Regions from separate parts of the Homo sapiens genome. Here regions 2, 3, 4, 5 and 6 are each linked to region 1. The links are contacts of gene promoters, found by promoter capture Hi-C in blood cells and fetal thymus (Javierre and others, 2016). All regions are on one chromosome and are shown on one strand. The core of a region is centred on a gene start or on the middle of the fragment in contact, and the rest is flanking DNA. Distances in the headings are between cores, read along the strand shown. Region 1 holds the start of IFIT5 (interferon induced protein with tetratricopeptide repeats 5). Region 2 overlaps STAMBPL1 (STAM binding protein like 1). Region 3 has its middle 33 kb from the start of FAS-AS1. Region 4 overlaps KIF20B (kinesin family member 20B). Region 5 overlaps KIF20B (kinesin family member 20B). Region 6 overlaps KIF20B (kinesin family member 20B).

Region 1 (3,628 bases), core at 501-3,000:
TTTTTCTGTTTTTTGTTGTTGTTGTTGTTTTGTTGTTGTTGTTGTTGTCAAGCCCCTTCCTGATAGCACTCTCCTTTCTTACAAATGTTAGATGTGGCCAGGCGTTGTGGCTCACGCCTGTAATCCCAGCACTTTGGGAGGCTGAGGCGGGTGGACCACGAGGTCAGGAATTCGAGACCAGCCCGGTCAACATGGTGAAACCCGCGTCTCTACTAAAGATACAAAAAATTAGCCAGGCGTGGTGGCACACGCCTGTAATCCCAGCTACACGGGAAGCTGAGGCAGGGGAATGGCTTGAACCCGGGAGGCGGAGGTTGCAGTGAGCCGAGATGGAGCCATTACACTACAGCCTGGGTGACAGGGCGAGACTCCGTCTCAAAAATAAAGTTAGATGTGTGGGTGGCACTTAAACTTTTTTTTTAAACTTATAATGGGAATAATTAACATTTATTGTGCAAGTATTATGTGCTAAGCAGTCAACTGATAGGATTTATTACTGTCCTTTTCCACAGTCCCAAGAGATGGACACCATTAATTTTTACAAATAAGGAACAGACTCACAGAGTTTGAGAAACTTTGGGATCACTCAACTAGTAGGAGTTCAGTCCGGATTTAGAACAAGGGACTATCTGCTTTTAGAGCCCAAGACCTTAACATCTCATTCCTCAACTCATTAAATGCGGAAGGTTCACTAACCACGTGCAGGGCGGGGTGCTAGCCCCTGGGGATACAAAATGATCAAGAAAAGGACGCCATCATACTAAATCAGTAAAGGAAACAGATAAAGAAATCCTCATAAAACAGCGGATTGGGTGGGACGATAACAATCTGTGCTTGGTACAGAGGTAGCTCCTGGGAAGGGAAGAACTCAGACCCAGAAATCAGAAACGCAAACTGGCAGTGGCAGGCGAACCTGACGCCTGCAGGGCTGCGGCGAAACCGCGTATGCCACACCGAGGGAATGGCAGCTGGAAAGAGAGGCACGCGACAGGCCTAAGGAGACCCGTGGCACGTAGCAGCTGCCCCCGGAACAGCGCCTGGGGGCTCTGCAGGCGCTGACCAGTTTCCCGGAGGCGGCGGCCGCGGACCCAGCACGGTCACCGTCGCCGCTGCCGAGAAGAGCCGTCGGGTCGCGATGGGTGGACAGGCCTTCCGGGGGAGCGTCGCCCGGCACATACCCTGACAGTCCCGACCGCAGACGCCAGGGATGGGACAGGCTCCCGGGGAGCATCTCCTGTTCCTCCTCCCTGACCGGCCTTCTTAGGCGCTGGGGAGGGGCCGGACTCCCGAGAAGCGTCCACTCGGCCACCCTCCCCGGCAGGCCCGACTTCAGACGCCGCGCGCCGGGACAGAGCGCCCGGGGAGGGTCCCCAACGCAGATGCCCGGTTGCTGGGCGCGAGGGGCTCGGCCCCTGAAAAGGCCGCAGAACTGCGCTGGAAATGAATAAAAGCAGCCCGGTTTGAAACCAAGGCCGACGCAGGGCTTGGGAGGAGAGGCAAAGGAAAACCCTTACCTCATGATGGCAGCGCTCTGCAGGCCGTCCGGGCGGCGCAGTCCCTCGGATCGCTCTCTCCTCAGCACCGGGGACCGCGGGAAGCCGCGCGGTGGGCGTGCGCGTGCGCGTGCGCGCGCCAGGCCTCTGCAGCCCCTGGACTCGGCCGCGCGGCGTGTCTTTGTTAAAGGAGAGACCCCAGCCCCAGCAAGAACAGGAAACTGGAGATTGAATCAGATGCCGAGCGCTCAGAAACTGAAACTTAAGAAATCGAAACTAAACGTAAGCTTCAGAAACCGAAACTTAATAGAAGAGCTCAAGAGCCGCGGCCAGACGTTTGCGGAGTCCAGGGTCTTTCGGAGTTGAATTTGCAGCTGGGCTCCTTCACTTTGGTCTCGGCTTTTATCTGCCTCCCTGAGTACGCTGAGTTCGCATGCTGCCCGTGTAACTGTTTGTTTGTTTGTTTGTTTGTTTGAGATAGCGTCTCACTGTGTCACCCAGTCGTGATCTCAAGGGATGCGCCCGCCTCTGCCTCCCAAGGTGCTGGGATTACAGGCGGAAACTTAAGTCCCTGCTTCCACTCCAGTCTTTTGATTCAACAAGCAACACTGCAATGCTATACATCTATGCTGTTATTTCTGTTGGGTGTAAACTGAGAAATTTGGAGCTAAAATCTATATACATTTTAAGTTTTGACGGATATTGCCAAATAGCTTTAAAAATCCACTCTTACCCACAATTGTAGGAGACTGCTTCTCTTCCATACCTTCGCCAATGGTGCTTTGTAATAAGGACCCAATAAAGACAAGAGTGGTATTGGGGATCTAGGCAGAAAATGTCAAACACCCATACCTTAAACATTTTGTCCCCTTTGAATTCATTCAGCAAATATTGACAAACAACTGTAAGAGCCAGACTTTGTTCAAAGTACTGTCAATATAACAATAAAGAAAACAGACACGGGCCTTACCCTTATTGAGTTAATGTCTGTATTCAAAACCTCAATATCCTGTCCATAATTCATCTTTTGCATTGATTTTGGTTTTTTTTTTTTTTTTGAGACAGGGTCTCACTCTGTCACTCAGGTTGGAGTGCAGTGGTGAGATGACAGCTCACTGCAGCCTCAACCTTCATGGCTCAAGCGATCCTCCCACCTCAGCCTCCTGAGTGGCTGGGACTATATGCGTGCACCACTATGTCGGGCTAATTAATTTATTTTTTGTAGAGGCGGGGTTTTGCCATGTTGCCCAGGCTGGTCTCCAACACCTGGGCACAAATATTTTTCTAAACCTTAAATATTGTTCCGCCCATCGTGGCCTCCCAAAATGCTGGGATTACAGGCATGAGCCACTATGCTTGGCCTGATTTTGAATTTTTAAAAACATATTGCATTGAAATATTGTCTACCTTGATCACTGAGCTTCTGGCACCCCACCCCTCAAAACTTAGTGCCTGAAGCGAGTGCCTCATTTAAAGCAATCACTTCTAACAGTTGTACTGTCTTATACAGAAACTGCTGGTCACCTGTGGCTATTAAGAACCTGATTTTTAATTTAATATAAATTTAAAAACTGATAAGTTAATAGAAAACTTACATTTGGAATAACTTAGGTATACGAATCTGCTTTTTATAAGTTGCAAATTTTATGAACTCTAAATACAGAGCAAGTATTTCCAGTGATTATCCTCAGCAAACTAATGCAGGAACAGAAACCAAACACTGCATGTTCTCACTTGTAAGTGGGAGCTAAATGATGAGAACACACGGACACAGTGGGGAACAACACACACTGGGGCTTGTTGGAGTTGGGGGTGGTGGGAGGGAGAGCATCAAGAAGTATAGCTAAGTGATGCTGAGCTTAATACGTAGGTGATGGTGTGTCCGGAATTGGTTCCTTCCAGTAGGTTTTTGGTCTTGGTGACTTCAAGAATGAAGCTGCGGACTCTCGCTGTGAGTGCTACAGTTGTTAAAGATGGCGTGTCTGGAGTTTGTTCCTTTCGATGTTCAGATGTGTCTGGAGTTTCTTCCTTCTGGTGAGTTCGTGGTCTTGCTGACTTCAGGAGTGCAGCTGCAGACCTTCACAGTGAGTGTTACAGATCTTAAAGGTGGCGCGTCCGGAGTTGTTCGTTCCTCC
Region 2 (3,628 bases), core at 551-3,050, 490 kb after region 1:
TACTTTCTTAGTGAAAATGAGTTCTCTTCTAGTTTGCTATTCAGAAGGGACATAATGGTTTTGCATACTCATAGCTTCTCTTTCTAGTCTTTCTGGAAATCTAAGATGCTAAATGTTCTTGGCCCTCAACTGAGTCCTTTCTATCTTTAGGCACCATTCAATGTCCATAGCTTTTTCATCGGACAACTCTCATTTTACATCCTCTTAGTGTATTACTATAATTTTTAATTCTATACAAAGGATCTCACTCATTTCTCAACTATCCATTGTCCCAACAATTATTTTTACTTGAATAAAGAATATAACATTTTCCTTTGATCAAGCATATCAGAATATCATGGTGTGTTTAAGTGTTAAGACACTGAGGACAGCACCACTCAGGAAAAAGTGAGGTGTCTATGGAGCCAGCCTTGCAGAGTTAATCTGCTCTTAACTAGTGGTGGCCATAGACTAAAGTCTCCATGCACAAGGCAAGCCAAGCTCTACTTCTGAAGTCTGATACCTGAGCTCTCCATAGCTAGAAGATTCCATGAAACAGAAACAAGCCACTGACTTGCCCATAGTAGGTGGTTCTGTATAAATGAGAACAGGAACAGAATTCAGGTGACATGATACCAGAATTGAGAACTAGACAAGCAGGGAGGGTTGATGCATTAGTCCATTCTCATGCTACTATAAAGAACTGACCAAGGCTGAGCAATTTCTAAAGGAAAGAGGTTTAATTGACTCACAGTTCTGCATTGCTGGGGAGGCCTCAAGAAACTTAAAATCATTGCGGAAAGGGAAGCAAAACACGTCCTTCTTCACATAATGGCAGGAAGAAGTGCTGAGCAAAAGGGAAAAAGCCCCCTATGAAACCATCAGATATCCTGAGAACTCACTCACTATCATGAGAACAGCATGGAGGTAACCACCCCAATGATTCAATTACCTCCCACCAGGTCCCTCCTACTATGATTTAAGATGAGATTTGGGTGGGGACACAGCCAAACCATATCAGATGTTAACCCATCCAAGCACAGAGTACAGGAAATACCACTCTGGAATATGGAAATCATTGAACTAAGCAGTGGAAGCTAGTACATGGAAACATGAGTTGTTTAGGCAACTCAGATACAATGTCATGAGGAAAGCAAAGGCAGGGAGAGCTGTGGCTGGCACAGAAGACATTGGGAAGACAGAAGGTTTCATAGGATTAGTTTGGCCCTGTTGAAAAGTTGTGGAGATCCAGGGAGAGATGGCTGGAGAAGGAAACTTAAACGTTGAAAAGAAAAAAGAAGAAAGCTAGACTAGAGTAATGTAAGGCCCTAAAGGATGAAAAGGGAGACTAAGAAGTGATCACAAGTTTCTCGATCAAGGAAAGGGCTGTCAGCCCAGGATTTCCCAATGTGCCTGGGAGCAATGTCTTCCAAGATAAAGATTTCACCTGCAGAACTAGTCTTCAGTGTCCCAAAGGACCTATTCTCAAATAACTCAACAATATCACTTCCATTCTGCCCTCTGTGTATCTGCAGCTAAGATTTCTCCACACTGTTTCCATCCTCAGGTTTTTCCTACCAATTCAACTTGCTAACAGAGTTAGCAAGTTGACTAAGAATTATCAGTTATTTCTTATGTCTCATTTCTTCTTCCTATCACCCCTGTTCATTTTCACAGTAACAGGTTTTGTACTTTTATCTGAGTCTTTTTTTAAAAAAAAAATCCTCTCTCAAGCTTCTCTACTTTTAGTCTTCTAAATCAAATTAATGAATTGTCTGCTATCCCAGGCCCTCTGACACCTGATCCCTGAATAGAAGTGTTGTTCTTGTATCTTACACAATGATTCACTGCAGAGATATCTCTCTGAGCCTGGGATTTCATGACACTGAAAACACAGAACAAGCTTTATCAATGGCAGCCATATTTCATCTACACATGGAAGCTGTTCACCTACCTCAGGGGAAGGTTTCAGAAACAGATGGTCTGCTTTGGAGACTATATACACTCAGAATTTCTTATTTGGAATTACATTTTACATGAATAAAAAATATAGCAAATCATCTAAAGCTCTAAAAATGTATGCAGAGACCTCTATAAATACAAGACATGTTGTTTGCAGCACAATTTATTATCTGGCCATAGTATTTGGGTACATTATCAGGTACCGATTTAACACCATGTAACCTCTCTTGACACAGAGCAACCCAAAAAGAAAACTTTAAAATGTGCAACAGCAATAAATATCAAGCTTTGTCATCTAAAATGTATAAATATAAAATATCAGTCATTTCTGGAAACATCTTAAGAAAATCCGGCAACCACATGTCCATGAGTAGGTGTCTGATGTTGACGGTGCTTACATTCAGAACATATCACCTCAGATCCAACACAATTATTTTTATGTCTTTTACCAACACATGTTTGCATATCTAGGAAAGAAAAAATTGGTTTTACCATATGTTTGATTTCACCATAATGTTTACCATATGATTTTCTTTAGGGAGGAAGTATAGATTTCCTAATTTTAATTTGTTCCTGATTTTTAAAATATTTCCAATCAGAACAAATACAATCACATTTATTCATTTTCAACAACAACAAAAATATTTACAGGGGTTGCCAAATAATTTTCATTTTAAGTAAATTCTAACGTCAATATAATGTTCTCTGATGTTATAGCCACAGAACCTCCAAGAAAATTAGGAAAAAAAAAGGCGTAGTCAAATGTTTCTTTTGGACTATGCAAAGGTAATCAAGAAGTATGATCATAGTTTCCATCAATTGCTATGAAAAAACTAATTTGGCCATATCAAGCAGAAAGAATTCATGCAACATTTTAAATGTCATTTTCTATGATAATTGTTTACTTATTTGGACTCTGAAGAAAACTTTTAAATATCATACATATACATAAGCGGAAAGGTAACTTTGTGCACCATTAATTCTGCTACAGAAATACTGATGTTTCCTTGTAAATACAATTATTTTGAGAATAAATCAGAAATTAAGTATACAGATAGATTAATTTTCTGAGATAAAACTCCAAACTAAGCAGTACAGTATTTTATCTTATATTAGACTGCTACTATTTATTTAAAAACAGATTGGGGGGGCAGTGAACAAGAAATACCTGGAAAAATAACTAATATGATGTACTCACACTGAACAGCCTGGGCTCCTTGGTGTGTGGATGAAAGCCCTTTTTTTTACAAGCAGAAACCTCAAGCATGCCAGCATTGGTGAGCCTGAAGATGCCAGTGCTAAATTTCAGAGCAAAAACAAGATAGAAAAATTAAGGATCATTTGGGCATTCCAGATGCTTTATTTGAACAGCACACACATACATATTCCTCAGATGGGATTGAGAAATCACAAACTAGGAATTCCATAGTGATTTTTTTTTTAAACCAATGACTGGTCCAGAGGAGAGAAACCCAGGAGGAGGCAATGCTGCTGCTAAGAGCCTGCAGGACCGTTAAGGGGACAAGGCAAATAAGCTATCGTGTGTGACCCCAGAGGAAAGGCCAAAGCCCCACTAGAGAGTCTCATGAGAGGAAATTACAAGTGGCAGATATTTCGAATCTTCTAATTATGTTAATACAGATTATAGCAATAGCAAATATGTATTGAGTACCTGCTGTGGTACCAG
Region 3 (3,628 bases), core at 729-3,228, 390 kb after region 1:
ACATAACTGAGACTGGGTAATTTATAAAGGAAAGAGGTTTAACGGACTCACAGTTCCACATGGCTGGGGAGGCCTCACAATGATGGCTGAAGGCAAAAGAGGAGCAAAGTCATGTCTTACATGGTAGGAGGCAAGAGGGTATGTGCAGGGGAGCTCCCCTTTATAAAACCATCAGATCTCATGAGACGTATTCACTATCATAAGAACAACATGGTAAAGACCCATCCCCATGATTCAGTTACCTCCCATCACGTCCTTCCCATGACACATGGGAATTATAGGAACTACAATTCAAGATGAGATTTGGGTGGGGACACAGCCAAACCATAACAATTATATTTAAAAGGAATATTAAAAAGAAATTATTTTTATTTATTAACATGGAATAGCAACCATAACCCATTGTTGAGTAAAAAGCATGTTATAAGCGTGTATGGTGTGATCACCTTTCTTTAACTTTGTGTGTGTGTAGATATCTAAAAATTCACAAGAGTTACCTTTGAACAGTGGGATTGGGATTAATTTGCACTTTTTTTTTTTTTAAACAGATCTCACTCTGTTGCCCAGGCTGAAGTACAGTAGCATGATCTTGGCTCACTGCAATCTCCGCCTCCCAAGTTCAAGTGATTTTCCTGCCTTGGCCTCCTGAGTAGCTGGGATTACAGGCACGTGCCACCACGCCCAGATAATTTTTGTATTTTTAGTAGAGACGGGGTTTCACCATGGTGCCAGGCTGGTCTCGAACTCCTGACTTCAGGTGATGCACCCTCCTCGGCCTCCCAAAGTGCTGGGATTACAGGCATGAGCCACCACACCCGGCCTTTTGCACTTTCTTTTTAAAACTGTTTTGTATTGCTTGAATTTTCTAGCTGACTATGTACTGGCTTCATAATCAGGAGGAAAAACAATGATATACTTGCTGGGTTGTACTGCAGATTTAGAAACACACAGTTGTTTGCACCTCATGTTGTCTCAGGGATGAGTTAGATATCTTTTCGCTCATTAATTTGTATGATCATTTGTACAGCAAATTTTTCTTTGATGCCTAGACCTGTAAAATTAGTCAAACATAATCCTTACTCCCTTCCACTGCCTTTAGGATAATAAGCTCTATATATAATTAATTAGGATGAGAGTGATAATGATAATAATGTCTACCATTTTTGAGTAAGCCAGACACTGTTCTAGGTGCTTTTCAGAATTGTCTTTAATCCATACCACAAAAAATGAGGGAGGCATTGTTGGCCCTAATAAACAGATGTGGCCTACAGTGTCTTTAGCCTGAGACACCAGAGAAGGTTTCATAAAGAGGTGGCCTCCAACTAAGACTTGAAAGAGGGGTGGCATTTGACCTTCATGGATGGGAAGAAGGGAATTCCAGGTCAAAAGCTAAGAAAACATATAGAAGAGAGGCATTCATGAGGTCAAGTTATGAACCATTTAGTTTGTTAGAACTGCAGGGAAGGCTTCCAAAAGAGACAAGGTTATTGGGGGTAGATTGAGGAGGAGAAAGCTTTGAGTTCCAGATTTAGGAAACAAATCTGAAATCCTTATAATCCAGAGGTTAAGCTGCGCTCTTTAGACAGAGGGGTTTGGATGGTTGGTGGGAGGGTGCCACCCTGGAAAAGAAAGTCCATTTTGTTGCACTCACTTCAGTGTCTTTCGTTTAGGTGACTAGGACACATTGCTCCCACCAATGGCCCTTTCCCAAATTCCTTGCTGCAGCAGCATCCACAAGAATGGACAGAAAGCATACAATGAAGGGAAACTTTTACCTGTGGCTATTTCATTTGCCATGACCTTTGAATGAGCCTTCTTGTCACTTCCCTGCATTTTACTGCAGACTTGTGCTTTTTATTTATAAAGCAGATAGCCAGAAGAATCCTGCAGCTGGGGAAGTCAAGCCCAAAGCTCTGTGTGAAATCTGATGTGTATTTGAACATCATTAGCCCTTTGTGTGTTCTCCTCAATCTGCCAACTCTAGCATCAATGTCATACTATTCCTGTACTGGTGCTGGGCTGGGCCTGTGGAGCCCTGGGCATTACTGTAATTATAGGAAAGCTATATTTAGCGCTTATCACATGCCAGATACCATTCCATGGGCTCTAAGTGGAGTATCTCATTTAATCCTCAGAGCAGCACTACATGGCAGATACTATCATTTTCCCTCTTCTAGAAGTGAGAAAACTAAGGCCCAGAGGAGGTAAATAAGTTGCCCAAGGTGACAAGGTCCCAAATCTAGGAATGGCAGGGATTCAAATGCACAGTCTTCAGAGCTTACACTCCTACCCACTTCTTTATGCTTCCTTTTCTGCCTTCAAGGACCTTACAATGTATATGGGGTACAAGATCTGTACATGCAGACCACAGGTCAAGTAACATAGGAGTGCCTGATGGAACGAGGACAAGCACAGATGACCTCAGAGAGGACTCAAAGCTTTCAGAGAGTTGGTTACAGCCTACAGCCTCCTGCGGGAACTAGTGATTTCCCTGGGCCTGTGAAGAGGGGTGGAATTTGGGTAGATTTTTTTGAGAGAGAGGAGAGCACAAGGTGCAGACAGTGAAGAGCAAGATTTGGACTGGGAGTAATAGAGTCAGAAACAAGAATGGGGGAAGCATGGAAGGAGTAGCTGGATATGGCTGGAATGACACAGGGATGGGGGCAGGGAAACTCAAAGGAGCTTGGATACACGTGATAAATTAATGATACAATGTTTAAAAAAAAAAAAAAGTTCAGCTTCCCTAACACTCGCTGTGACTTTTCCATCAAATGCCAGTCATACAGAACACAAATGACTACTGCATACATAATGTTCCTTCATTAACTGATTCATTCAAGAAATGTTGACTGAACACCTACTCTGTGCTAATCATGATTTCTGCCCTCAGATGGCTTATGGCCTAGCAAAGGGGAGATAATTAAACATCTACAGAAGACAATTATATGTGAGTGCATATCAGAGGTGCATGGTTTAGATGGCATAAGGGTAAGAATTCCACAGGAGTGGCCTTTGGACACCCACAAGAGTGGAATTCCCCTTATACCAAAGCAAGATGGTGGTTTGGACAATATGCACGTGTTAAGGAGGAGAGGGGAGAAGCGAGGAAAGGAAAGGAAGATTGGATGTCTGGATAAATCTGCACTATATTTTGACACAGGGATGAGAGACCAGTGTTTTTCCAAGCTTTGTAAAATAGCTCTTTCAACTTTCTTTATTGATTTTTCTTTGCTTTCATCCATGGGCAAGAGATTTAAGCAATAGACGCCAATCTATACTGAAAATTAATGTCACCAACTAAGGTGTTCTTAATAAACAAAATTCACCATGCCCATTACCTTTTTCATGCAGAACGAGTTATCCCATGAGATACCCTAGTCCTTCTATACTTAGACATCTCAGCAGCCTGCTGTTTGCCATAGACACTATTGGACCCTGGATCATCAAGAGATCACCTGCTAACAAATGTGACACATGGCCTCCTCCATCTCTCTGCTTAAAGGTGTCTGTCCTCAGGATACCAAAGCTGGAGGGAAGAAGACAGGCCAGAAGTATTAGGGATATTAGGGAGTTAATGCCCTAGAAAGACCCCTCAACCAATGAAAGACTGGAGTTGGTGTCAAGACTC
Region 4 (3,628 bases), core at 652-3,151, 360 kb before region 1:
CATACCCCGTAAATATATACATGTACTATGTACCCACAAAATGTTTACAAAATAAGTGAGACATTCTAATTAAAGACTTGAGATCTTTTCTAAATAATGTATATACATGTTTTGTGATCTGTACACACTTATTCTCCAAATCCTAGCTATAATCCAAACAGATATGTAAAATCAGTTGTATAACAGATAAAGTAAAAAAAATTCATAAGACATTGTTAAATATAAGTAAACCAAATACCTGACCTATTACATCCTGTATAGCAAAATAAATGAGAATAACAGCCTCTTTCCTAGGATCTTCACTGATCCAATGTCTGAGATAATAGGGAAATACAGTTTGAAAGAAGCTATTATAAAAAAGCCTTATAAAAATATACAAATTTTGACTCATTTATTGAATTAAAATTATACTATGTATAAAACAGCAATCTATATGCAGAGTGATTTAATGCATAATATATACATTTATATTTACAATACAGGATGCAAGTTCCAATGACTATGACTATAAAATTTATATTAAACATTTCCATAAGTGATTTATTTGGCTGTTTTTGTTCGAAGTCGTCGTTTGATAATCTGGTGATCACTCTCCTTCATTTTCTGGTCCATTAAAATCTGAAATTAAAAATTTCATAGTTTTTCAAAGCTTGTAAGTGAAAATAAAAATAAAAGCTTGTTTATAATGAGTAAGACATGTTCATGTGCTTAGTAACTGAAATGATACATTGGAGAATTTTTTTTACTTAGACTACAGATATGCCATCTTCTATAAAAATTTATTTAAAAAACAGACTTTGTAAAAGATTCAACACTATCAAATTCTAGAAGTAAAATAACCTAGACTCCATATTGAATTCAAGGCAGATATAACTTAAAATAATTACTAAAATATTTGGAGACAAGTGCCTCAAATAATTTTTAAGAAATGATCTTTCGTGGCAACAAATGTATAACTTAGAAAGTAGAAAGCACATTATATAGTAACTAAGAAAACAATTTTCAGCCAAGGGAAGAAATCAGGTACTAATCAAACAGATGCTCAAAAATGACTGACAGAATGGTACTTACAACACCATGCCCTAATTTACCCTAACTCTTTACATCTTGCATTCAAGTGTCAATCTCATATCTGAAAGCTCTTGTGGCAAAAAAGGTTTCTCCTGATTTTTCTTGGCCACTTCTTTTTAATTTTTTTAATTTCTTTTAATTATTTTTTTACCTTCACTTTCATCCACTAAGCAAATGCAAGCATGACAGAAAATTTGAGCTTTCCCTGTGACAGCACATACTGTTCTGAATCAGGAGAATGAATCATAGACTCAGGGTGATAACTACAGTCTCTTCCTAATAGATCCTCAAAGGCTTAGGGGAAAGGTGGGAGGAAATGGCTGAATGTCAGTTTTATATTTTTACCAGGAACACTTGGGCCCAGATTTGTACAACTCCCGTGATTTAAAAAAGAGAAAGAAAAAGAAAAAAAGATTGTGGAGGCAAATAAGTTACTAAATAGTGACAATTCTATTATTGGAAATAAATTCCTCTGATGCATTTTCAAATGCAAATGCATGACGCTTATATACATTTAATACAGTATTTATATTTAATTAGTATAAACTTAACACATGTGAGACTAAAAGCATGACCTTTATAGCATGTGTTTTCAGAGATCTAAAGAATTGAAATTCAAACCACTGTAAAAAATTAAAAAGAACACGAACAGTTCTACATTGATGAAAACAGAAATACTAGCTTACCACTTGGCCTGATATATCAATAGGAGATGAAATTTCACTTGTGTATAATTTCCGTTTGGCTCGTTTTGGTTGAGACACATTTTCTTTACTTGCTTCTACATTTGAGAGCTTTGAAGAGCTCATTGTTTCAATTATCTTCTTTGCTATAAAATAAAATTGTTAATTAGTTCCTGAAATAATTTTCTAATTGCAAAGGTGATTTGAAATCCTTAATAAAGATGGTTTGAAATCCTTAATAAAGAATGAACATACACAAACTAAAAACACTGCAATATATATATGGTGAAAGGGCATGAATAGACAAATCACAAAGAAAAAAAGTAAATGTCAAGAGAACATGAAATAATGATCGACAGCAAAAAAAAAGCAAATAAAGTATCATTTGATTAATGTTCAATGTAGTAAAAAACCTCAGGCATCTTTAATGACTTGGAAAATGTTTATGCTATGTTAAGCAAAAGAGCAGGATATATACATAGTGGATCATGCAGCATTAAAAATAAGGTGGTAGATGATCTAGTTCAATGCTCATGCATAAAGTTATGCACAATGAATGCTGCATGAAAATACTTTGTAAACCCTTTACTTCAAGTCCACACACAAATGGAGAGAAACCAAACTGTTAACAGCTGATTGCTTTTAGGGAAGTAGAATAGGAATTTTTAAATTCCTTACTATGTACATAGTACATAGTACTTTTTTTTAATAGAAAACATATTTCCATGTGGGAAAATTCCTGGATAGAAATTCACACACATGTGATATCAAATATTTTTTTTTAAATAGAAAAAACATTTAAGGCATTAGACTAAATTGAGAAGACTACTTGTTAAGGGCTGAGCTGGGCTTGAGAGAGCTGAGAGTCCAGGTATCGGAGAAGCCAGTTAAGACAACAAGCCAAAATGAAAGTAACAACCCAGCTTTTTAACCACTTATTTCAACAGTATATGCGAGAGACTAAACCTGAGAAAGCACCAGCTCCTACCCACCCTCTTCTATAGTCCACCACAGAATAATACAGATCAGCATAGAAGTGGTGGTCATTTTACCACCCAGGCAGCCCCAAACAAAAGGCTCTCGCAGTTTTATAGACCTCAGGGCTGGAGGTTGGAGGGAGCTATACGTGGAAAAGTACCGAGTTACAGTGGAGAAAAGCGTCTTCAAGGTTCCCCCTCCTGTTCCCCTCCATAAGAAGGCCTCCACCAAAGGCCTCAATAAAGAGGCTCTGAATGGAGGCACTCAGGCTAAATATGCAAATATGAGTAAGAGCATGACTAGCTTGGGGGATGCTGGATCCTTGACTATAACTCCCTTAAGAGATTATAATGCATTGGCTATGCATCAAGTCTGGTGTAGGAAGGGAAGCTTGTCAGGTAAGTCTTTGTAATTGCCTATGGTACAGCCTAAAAAAAATAGAAATGTTTAAAAATCATACATATGTTGGCCTAGAGCCAAACTCATCACTACTATGTGCTAGCCACTATACTAAGAGCTGACAGTATGAACTAGACAGACATTTTGTCCGTGCAGATTATATTCTAGTGTAAAAGATAATAAGAAAGCAAAGAATTACAGTTTAAAAAGTGCTAAGACAAAAAATAGGATTGAATAATAAAGATTAAGTGATGCTGGGGATGAGGGGTAGTGACAGGGTGATGAAGGAAGGTGTCTCCCTAATAACGTTCCATCAGCTATGAGGGCTCAAGGGTAAGGGGCCAGCTAAGACAAAAGCCAGGGTGTGTTCCAGATAAAAGAAAGCACAGGAAAAAGCAAAAGAAATCAATGATATGAAGGTAAGAAAGAAGCTGGCAAATTCTAGGAACTGTCAGAAGTTAGCAGGATTGAAGCTGGCTAGTTATCAAACCGTAGAA
Region 5 (3,628 bases), core at 552-3,051, 340 kb before region 1:
GTGGGCAAATGATTTACGACAAAAGTGGCACAGCAGTGAGAAAGAAACAGTCTTTTCAATAAATATTTCCACATCAATTGGTAATTCACATTAAAACAAACATCAAGAGCTTTGACCACTATCTCACACCAACACAAAAATCAATTCTAGTATCTAAATATGAAAGATAAAAAACTTCAAAGCTTTCAGGAAATAATATAACACACCATCTTCAAGTCCTTGGGCTTCATAAAGAAAAATATTGGGACAATTATCTACAATAATACTAATAAAATTATCTACAATAATTGTAATATCTACCATATCTACAATAATAATTTATGAGAACTCCTACTCATAAAAAGGCAGTAAGAAAGAAAAAGCAAACTAGAGATAGAAAGAAGGTACTTGCAACACATTACAAAAAGGGCTTCTATCCCGAAAAGTATAAAGAATTCCTACAAATAAGAAGCTAGATAATCCAACAGAGAAACAGGTAAGGGAACTTGTATAGGCACAGCCAATAAACAAATGAAACAATCTTCAACTTCATCAGTAATTAGGGAAAAGCACATTAAAACCATTTTAAAAACTGACTGACAATACCATACCTTGGTGGGACTATACAGCTACTGCAACACTAGTTGGGGTATAAATGGGTACAACTGCTTCGAAAATCAGTGCAGCATTCTACTAGAATTTCACATATATATACCCTATCATCTAGCAATTGTCATGTGTGTATATATATATATATATATATATATATATACACACACACACACACACAACAGAGATATATGCAAATGTGCACCAAAACAAATGTATAAAAATGTTTATAGGAAAATTTATTCATAACAGCCAAAACCAGAAAACAATCCAAATATCTTCAACATTAAAATGAATTAGCAGTGGTTTATTCATACACTTAAATATTCTGAAATGAAAGTGGACTAACTCCAGATACATGCATGGAAACATGGATGATTCTCACAAACATAAAATAGTGAATGAAAAGAAGTCAGGTACAATCAAATGTATTCATATATTTCAATTTACATAAAACCCAAAAACAGACAAAACTGAAGTGTAACACTGAAGGACAGATTAGTTATTACCACTGGAAAAGAGGCAGAAGAAGGAGCTTCTGGGGTGGAACAGTGTTCTCTTCTTGAAATAGGTATTAGTTAAGTGGGTACTGGCTTCACAATAACTCACTGAACTATGTTCTATTTCCTTTCCATGTTATATGTTACAATTTTACATCAAAAATTAACATTACATCAAAAATGTGTTTCTTAAGTATGGCAGACACATACACAACCTAAGTATGATTATAAAGAAACATATGAGAGAAAAGAGTAAACTAGCTTTCCCTAGGATTAAAAATTCAAAGTGGGATTACTTGCTGGCATTGCTACCAGAGAAACCACTGGTTTGGAATTGGAGCAACTGTGACAGCCTTCTGTTTTGATTTTACTTATTGCCTCTTACTACTGGGTCAGGAAGGTTGGGTGATAGGTATACAGGAATTCTATGTGCTAGTTCTGTAACTTTTCTGTAAATAAAATGATTTCAAAAAATTTATTCTGTAAATAAAATGATTTCATGAAAAAGTAAACTTTTTTATGGGAGCAAATTTACACCATGTGACATGAGGACAGAGCATTCAATGGTAGACTCTCTAGCTTCAGAAAGGACACACACTTCAACCAAGGGCTTGATTTCTGGAGTAGAATACATGTATGGTCTGGAGTTTAGCAAGCATGCTGGAAAGTTTAGCTCACAACAGCCTCATTTTAATAAAAACTGGCCAACTCTGTTCAATATTCAATGTTAAAAGCAGCTTTAAAGCTAGGGAAGAAAAAAAGTGGAAAAACTGTCCTTACCTTATTGAAAATTAACATTTCAGGCCGGGTACAATGCACAGTGGCTCACACCCATAATCCCAACACTTGGGGGAAGCTGAGGCAGGAGGACTGCTTGAGACCAGGAGTTTGAGACCAGCCTGGGCAACACAGCAAGTCTCTGTCCCTACAAAAAATAAAAGATTTACCTAGGTGTGGTGGCATGTGCCTGTAGTCCCAGTTACTTGGGAGGCTGAGCTGGAAAGATTGCTTTTGCCCTGAAGTCTGAGGCGGCAGTGAGCCATGACTGCACCACTGCATTCCAGCCTGGGTGACAGAACAAGACCTTGTCTCTTTAAAAGAGGAAAGAAAAGGGAAAGGGAAAGGGAAGGGGAAGGGGATGGGCACGGGGAAGGGAAAGGAGAAAGGAAGGAAAGGAAGAAGGAGGACAGGATGAAGAAAAGGAAGAAGGAAAGGAAAAAGGAAAGGGGAGGGAGGGGAGGGGAGGGAAGGAAAGGGGGGAGGGAAGGAAAGGGGGGAGGGGAGGGAAGGAAAGGAGGGAGGGAGGGAGCAAGGAAGGAAGGAAGGAAAGAAGGAAGGAAATCTTTCAGTTTTTATAGGAAAGTTTAACTGTTTTTAGTCAAATGCAGTCATAAAAAAAGGAAATGCCAACAGATGACAATATGATACTGCGAAGTTACTATTTTTATAGACACTGGTTTTTCATTTTAAAATATTTGTTGCTCAATAGCTTTCCTCGGATTAACGATAACGTTTAGCTTCTTTTTTCTGATTGCCAACATGGCATGTCAGACTAAGTGCCAATTAGAAAAAAAGAACAGGCTAAGACAATCATTACAAGACCTACAGCTAGTAAATGTAAAACTGAAGGTCATTTCTACTATATATATAGTCTTTTACAAACTATTTAGGTGACTTTATGTGATAAAATGTACACAGTATTAGAATCTACAGTTCAAAATGCAGAAAGTTTTAAAATATAATAGGGAATACTCTGTAACGGTCAAAAGGAAGAGATTTTTTACTTCAGTATCTAGACAGTAAGAAGCAATAAGGTATTCTCCCAACATGCTAAATCAACTGAAACAAGTTAAAACAAGAACATTAGTGAATGTCAAGATAAATTGGCTCAGAAGTTATCTTATAAAGATGACAACCTGCCTTTAAAAAACCAAAAACAGAAAACCATGTAGAAACTGTTAATTCCAGCAATACATTTAACACACCAAGGAAAGTAGGTGAAATACATCAAAGATACAATTGTTACTAACCATTTCATTCTGTTGCTTAAAAAAACGCTCCCTGTCCTCAGCATATTTTTTCATCTCTTTATTTCGTATATTCTCTGCTTCTTTCGCTTGAGTGATAAGCATCATTTTTTCTTCTAACCATTTCTTTCTATCAGCATTATATTTCTGTTCAGACTCCTGTATATATAAATGGTATAAGTTATTATCGCATGCCTACAAAGTAGTCAATACATGTTTCTATAACATTTTCATACAATCCATTACTTTTCACCTCTATAAAAACTTTAATGTTTCACTTTAAACAATGACAAGATCAAAGCTTCAGATTATTTAAAAAATAATAAAATAACTGGTTTGCTTTCCTAAACGCATTTCATTTATAAGTTAATTTTGCTATGAAGTCCATTTAAATACTTTTATCAGTGACCTTAAGAAAAAATAAATAATTCAAATTTCTGAAACAGTTAAACTGACTCAAATCTTCCTAAATGCCAAGAGAATAAAAAAGACTTTGTTTGTGGTGGTCATTTC
Region 6 (3,628 bases), core at 412-2,911, 320 kb before region 1:
TTAGCTTTCTTAAACGCCTGCTGCTGGCAGCTGAAGTAGTACCTTTCTTTGCTGGTGGTTCATCTTGCTGAAGTTCATTTTCATTTACTCTTTTTCTTTCTGAACAGATTTTAGATTTGCTGTCCTTAGGTACTTCAACTGTTTCATTACAAATCAATTTATTGTTTATTATTAAAGAAGATGTATCAGCCTTGTCCTAAAGCAAAATAAGTTAAAAATAATTCACATATAGAAAGCTACAAAAAATGTACAAATCACATAAATTACTTTCAATGGTGTACCATAAAAATTTTATTTTCAAATTTGTTGAGACATTTTCTAAGTTATTTCTTAAGTTTCGTCCTAAAATAACTGATGGCTCTAGCAAATAAGTAACATTTGGGGATAACTGGAGAATCTTAAGAAGATAAATCTCTGAAGTCACATCAGAAATGTGCTTTGAAAAGAAAAATATGAACTCAACTATTTATTTTGTTTTGTAGCCAAAGCCTCTTAAAGATTAGTATTGTCTTAAACATTAACAACTCCTAGAAAAATAGTTTTGCCCTTAGCTTTAAGTCGATATATATTCAAAGATATACAGCCTACAGACAGCTTTGAAACTGAGCTTCTAGATACGTCATTTAGACTTTTTTTTTTTTTAAGGCAGACTGCCTCCCTTGAAAAGGCTAGTAGCAACCAAGCACAGGGGCTCCTGCCTGTAATCCCAGCACTTTGGGAGGCTGAGGCCGGAGGATTACTCAAGCCCAGGAGTTTGAGACCAGCCTGGGCCACACAGTGAGAACCCGTCTCTACAAAAAATTAAAATTCCAGGTGTTGTGGTCCATGCCTGCAGTCCCAGCTACTCGGAAGGCTAAGGCAATGGGATCTCTTGAGCCCAGCAGTTCAAGGCTGCAGTGAGCCATGGTCACATCACTGCACTTCAGCCTGGGCAACAGAGTGATGAGACCCTACCTCTAAAAAGAAAGAAAGTGGGGGAGCTGAGAGAGGGGGGGAACTTCCAAAAAAAGGGTATAATATGGATTTAGAAGAAGGGTAAAACTCAGCATTTAAGCGCAAGTCTATAGAGTAATCAAATGTATGGTGAAGGCAGAAACTTGTAGCAATCAATTTGAAAAAACAAAGTGTATGATAGAGTGCCGCTTAATCAGCAAACATTGTATTAGCAGGAAATACAGATAAAAATAACCTTTTAAAGTCATAAAGTAATGGGTTATTTAAGAAAAAAGGCAAAGTTTTTCTAGTATCTCTAAACAAAGGATGTCATAAAGAACAATCTCCACGCTTTCTCACAATTAGTCCCTTAGTGTCACTGATAAATGACAAAATCATGGGACAGGCAGATCACACCTCTGACACAGCTCCATAACAAGTCCAAGTTGTTCCTTCCCCGATCCTTGGTACCTATCAGAATGATCCCGTCATTTTTCCCCGCTTCAAAATATACAATCCTCACCAAAAATCTATCCTTCAGAAGTTATAGTTATTGAAAGGAGGGTTTTCTGCTCCCAGGGTATGCTTGGGTAGAAAAAGCAAAGAATTCAAACTAAATTTTTTCATTATTGGAAAGAGTTTGCGCTCAAGACAAGATGTGGAACAGTGACCCTAGATCAACTGTTAATCAGGACAATTAGGTAAGTTCCAAACTACTTTGTATATTTGTATGTATTTAAGTGAACAATTTAAATTTAGCACACTGTATTAAGTTAGTTGATAAAACAAGATCTAGAATCTATAAAGTTTATTTACAAGCAAGGACTAACTAATTTACAAATATTGATTTTTTTACTATCACTTCCTTAAATATTGCTAATATATTATGGTATGCAAACACACTACAGCAATAAATATAATCCCATGTGAAATTTCCAACTATTTTCTTTGAAGTTGTAGTCACCAGAAATGACCTGTCTCTGACTTTCCTTTTTGTTTTTATTTACCAAATCAAAGAACAGACTTAAAATCCAGATCAAGAGATGAGAGCAAAAAGCATGTGATGACTAACCAAATAAAAGTTTCGAGAGCCAGGAGGCCCAGCAATTAATTTACTGCCCCAAGTCTCAAAATTTTAACATCCCCTTACTTCACAAATCAATTTCCTCTTCCTTAATCTCTACTACTACTACCGTAAATCGAAGTCCTCATCAACTATTAGCTGAACTCTTCCAAGAGGTAGCTATCTGGTCTCTCTGCCTGTAGTCTAATTCCATCTCAATCCTATCTTCCAAGTTTCCAAAAATATCTACTCAAATGAAAAACTCCTCTTTGCTATTCCTCTGGTGAAAATGACTCCCCCACTGACTCCCCAAACTCTTTAATGCAGTATTCAAGGTCTTTCATCTTATCCTATTCTACTACTCCTAGCCTCATTTCTCACCTCTCCTTGCTTCAAACTTTCTTCCTAAACAACAAATTGTTTGTATTTTCCTGCACTCACTGAAAGATTTCTCATTTCCATGACTTTGTGCACTCTGATTCTGGTACATGGAAGGCCAATGTACCTTCTTGTCTCTCCTGACTACCACTGTCCCCTTCCTCTACCTTCAAAAGGCTAAATTTTACTCACCCTTTAAGGCTCAACTTAATCATTTTCATCTCCACAAAGTATTCCTAACTCCCCACCCACTCACAGCTTCACACATTGACTACGACTGCACATTGTATTATAACTATATTTATGTTGTTTTTTTCTTATTGGGGGATTGTTAGGGTAGTAGATTTTATTAATCTGTATAATTCCAATAATCTAGCATAGTACCTGGCACACGTTGGACACTCCACAAGTGTTTCTTGCTCCTCCACCTTATTAAATACTAATTATTACTAAATAGTTTATTATTAACATATTAAATATTAGGATATTTCTCCCAGTTCAGGTACAGAAAAACCAGAGAATGAATCATGTATCTAATAAATACCAAAAGAAAGGCCTACTATAGGAGATTAGACAGAGTGCTCTTCTAGAATGCTCCTCATTTACCCCTGTGGTATCAAATGCCCATCTAAAGTTCAGATGAATCAGGGAATGTTGGTGGGTATTAGAGTTTGACTATCAAGATACAAAGGAAACTCAACAGTCACTTTTTATAAGATACCACGCCTGCTTCTTTTGGTCATAGAAAAGACATAAAAAAGCACCTTTCAACAAAGCAAGATGTTTGGCTCTAAGTTTACTCAGCTTACTACATTATTACCATATATTTTACCATTTCTAAATAAAAGAATAATTTGAAGGAGCTTACCCCAAAAAAAGAAAACCAAAAGCCATTTTAAAAGACATGGATTAAAAGACAAGCTGATCATTCTAAGCTGAACTGAATATGAAATTATCTAAATTTGTATGAAAGACAACCCTTTAAGTCTTTACATGTCACAGTGTATAACTTTTTAGAAAAAATATCCTTGCTATTAAGCATATAAACAATAGCAACAATACATATAATAAAAACAAGCTTCTAAGGAAAAACCTAATTTTACTGAATTTCATGTTATAGTTCCCTGAAACATTATAATCTGGTTTTCTAAGTACACCTAAATTCCTTTCTCCTCAAAGCTCCCCTTCCAACTAGCTGAGGCTTAAACGTCCAAAGGCTACATATTCTCCTCCTTTTTACATGCAAAGCACTGC

Evidence for each region. Contacts are between HindIII fragments. The CHiCAGO score rates a contact against its expected background, and 5 or more counts as called.
Region 2: a contact is called between a fragment that was not itself captured here and the fragment with the promoter of IFIT5 in region 1, in 1 of 17 cell types (neutrophils). The highest score is 5.5, in neutrophils.
Region 3: a fragment that was not itself captured here is called in contact with the fragment with the promoter of IFIT5 in region 1 in 1 of 17 cell types (M0 macrophages); the score reaches 5.2 in M0 macrophages.
Region 4: a fragment that was not itself captured here is called in contact with the fragment with the promoter of IFIT5 in region 1 in 1 of 17 cell types (erythroblasts); the score reaches 6.9 in erythroblasts.
Region 5: a contact is called between a fragment that was not itself captured here and the fragment with the promoter of IFIT5 in region 1, in 1 of 17 cell types (megakaryocytes). The highest score is 5.8, in megakaryocytes.
Region 6: a contact is called between a fragment that was not itself captured here and the fragment with the promoter of IFIT5 in region 1, in 1 of 17 cell types (megakaryocytes). The highest score is 5.2, in megakaryocytes.

What each region holds. Positions count from the first base shown.
Region 1 is chr10:89,412,690-89,416,317 of GRCh38, reverse strand. IFIT5 (interferon induced protein with tetratricopeptide repeats 5) reads right to left here and starts at 1,750. Exons shown (of 2, transcript NM_012420.3): 1 at 1,515-1,750. The coding sequence starts at 1,519. It also overlaps a transcript of LIPA not described here. RefSeq lists enhancers at 704-773, 874-973, 1,584-1,893. The HindIII fragment of the contact is 3,334 bases long and covers 1-1,782 here.
Region 2 is chr10:88,921,948-88,925,575 of GRCh38, reverse strand. It overlaps STAMBPL1 (STAM binding protein like 1), which reads right to left. Exons shown (of 11, transcript NM_020799.4): 10 at 3,140-3,239; 11 at 2,089-2,408. The coding sequence ends at 2,352. Among named protein-coding and RNA genes, the nearest start is that of ACTA2-AS1, 8.9 kb to the left of the region's middle. The HindIII fragment of the contact is 169 bases long and covers 1,716-1,884 here.
Region 3 is chr10:89,024,064-89,027,691 of GRCh38, reverse strand. No RefSeq gene overlaps it. Among named protein-coding and RNA genes, the nearest start is that of FAS-AS1, 33 kb to the right of the region's middle. The HindIII fragment of the contact is 925 bases long and covers 1,516-2,440 here.
Region 4 is chr10:89,770,961-89,774,588 of GRCh38, reverse strand. It overlaps KIF20B (kinesin family member 20B), which reads right to left. Exons shown (of 33, transcript NM_001284259.2): 32 at 1,758-1,900; 33 at 1-618. The coding sequence ends at 541. Among named protein-coding and RNA genes, the nearest start is that of LINC00865, 57 kb to the left of the region's middle. The HindIII fragment of the contact is 2,447 bases long and covers 678-3,124 here.
Region 5 is chr10:89,754,164-89,757,791 of GRCh38, reverse strand. KIF20B (kinesin family member 20B) reads right to left here. Exons shown (of 33, transcript NM_001284259.2): 26 at 3,119-3,274. Among named protein-coding and RNA genes, the nearest start is that of KIF20B, 54 kb to the right of the region's middle. The HindIII fragment of the contact is 3,234 bases long and covers 185-3,418 here.
Region 6 is chr10:89,729,471-89,733,098 of GRCh38, reverse strand. It overlaps KIF20B (kinesin family member 20B), which reads right to left. Exons shown (of 33, transcript NM_001284259.2): 19 at 43-196. Among named protein-coding and RNA genes, the nearest start is that of KIF20B, 30 kb to the right of the region's middle. The HindIII fragment of the contact is 3,587 bases long and covers 1-3,454 here.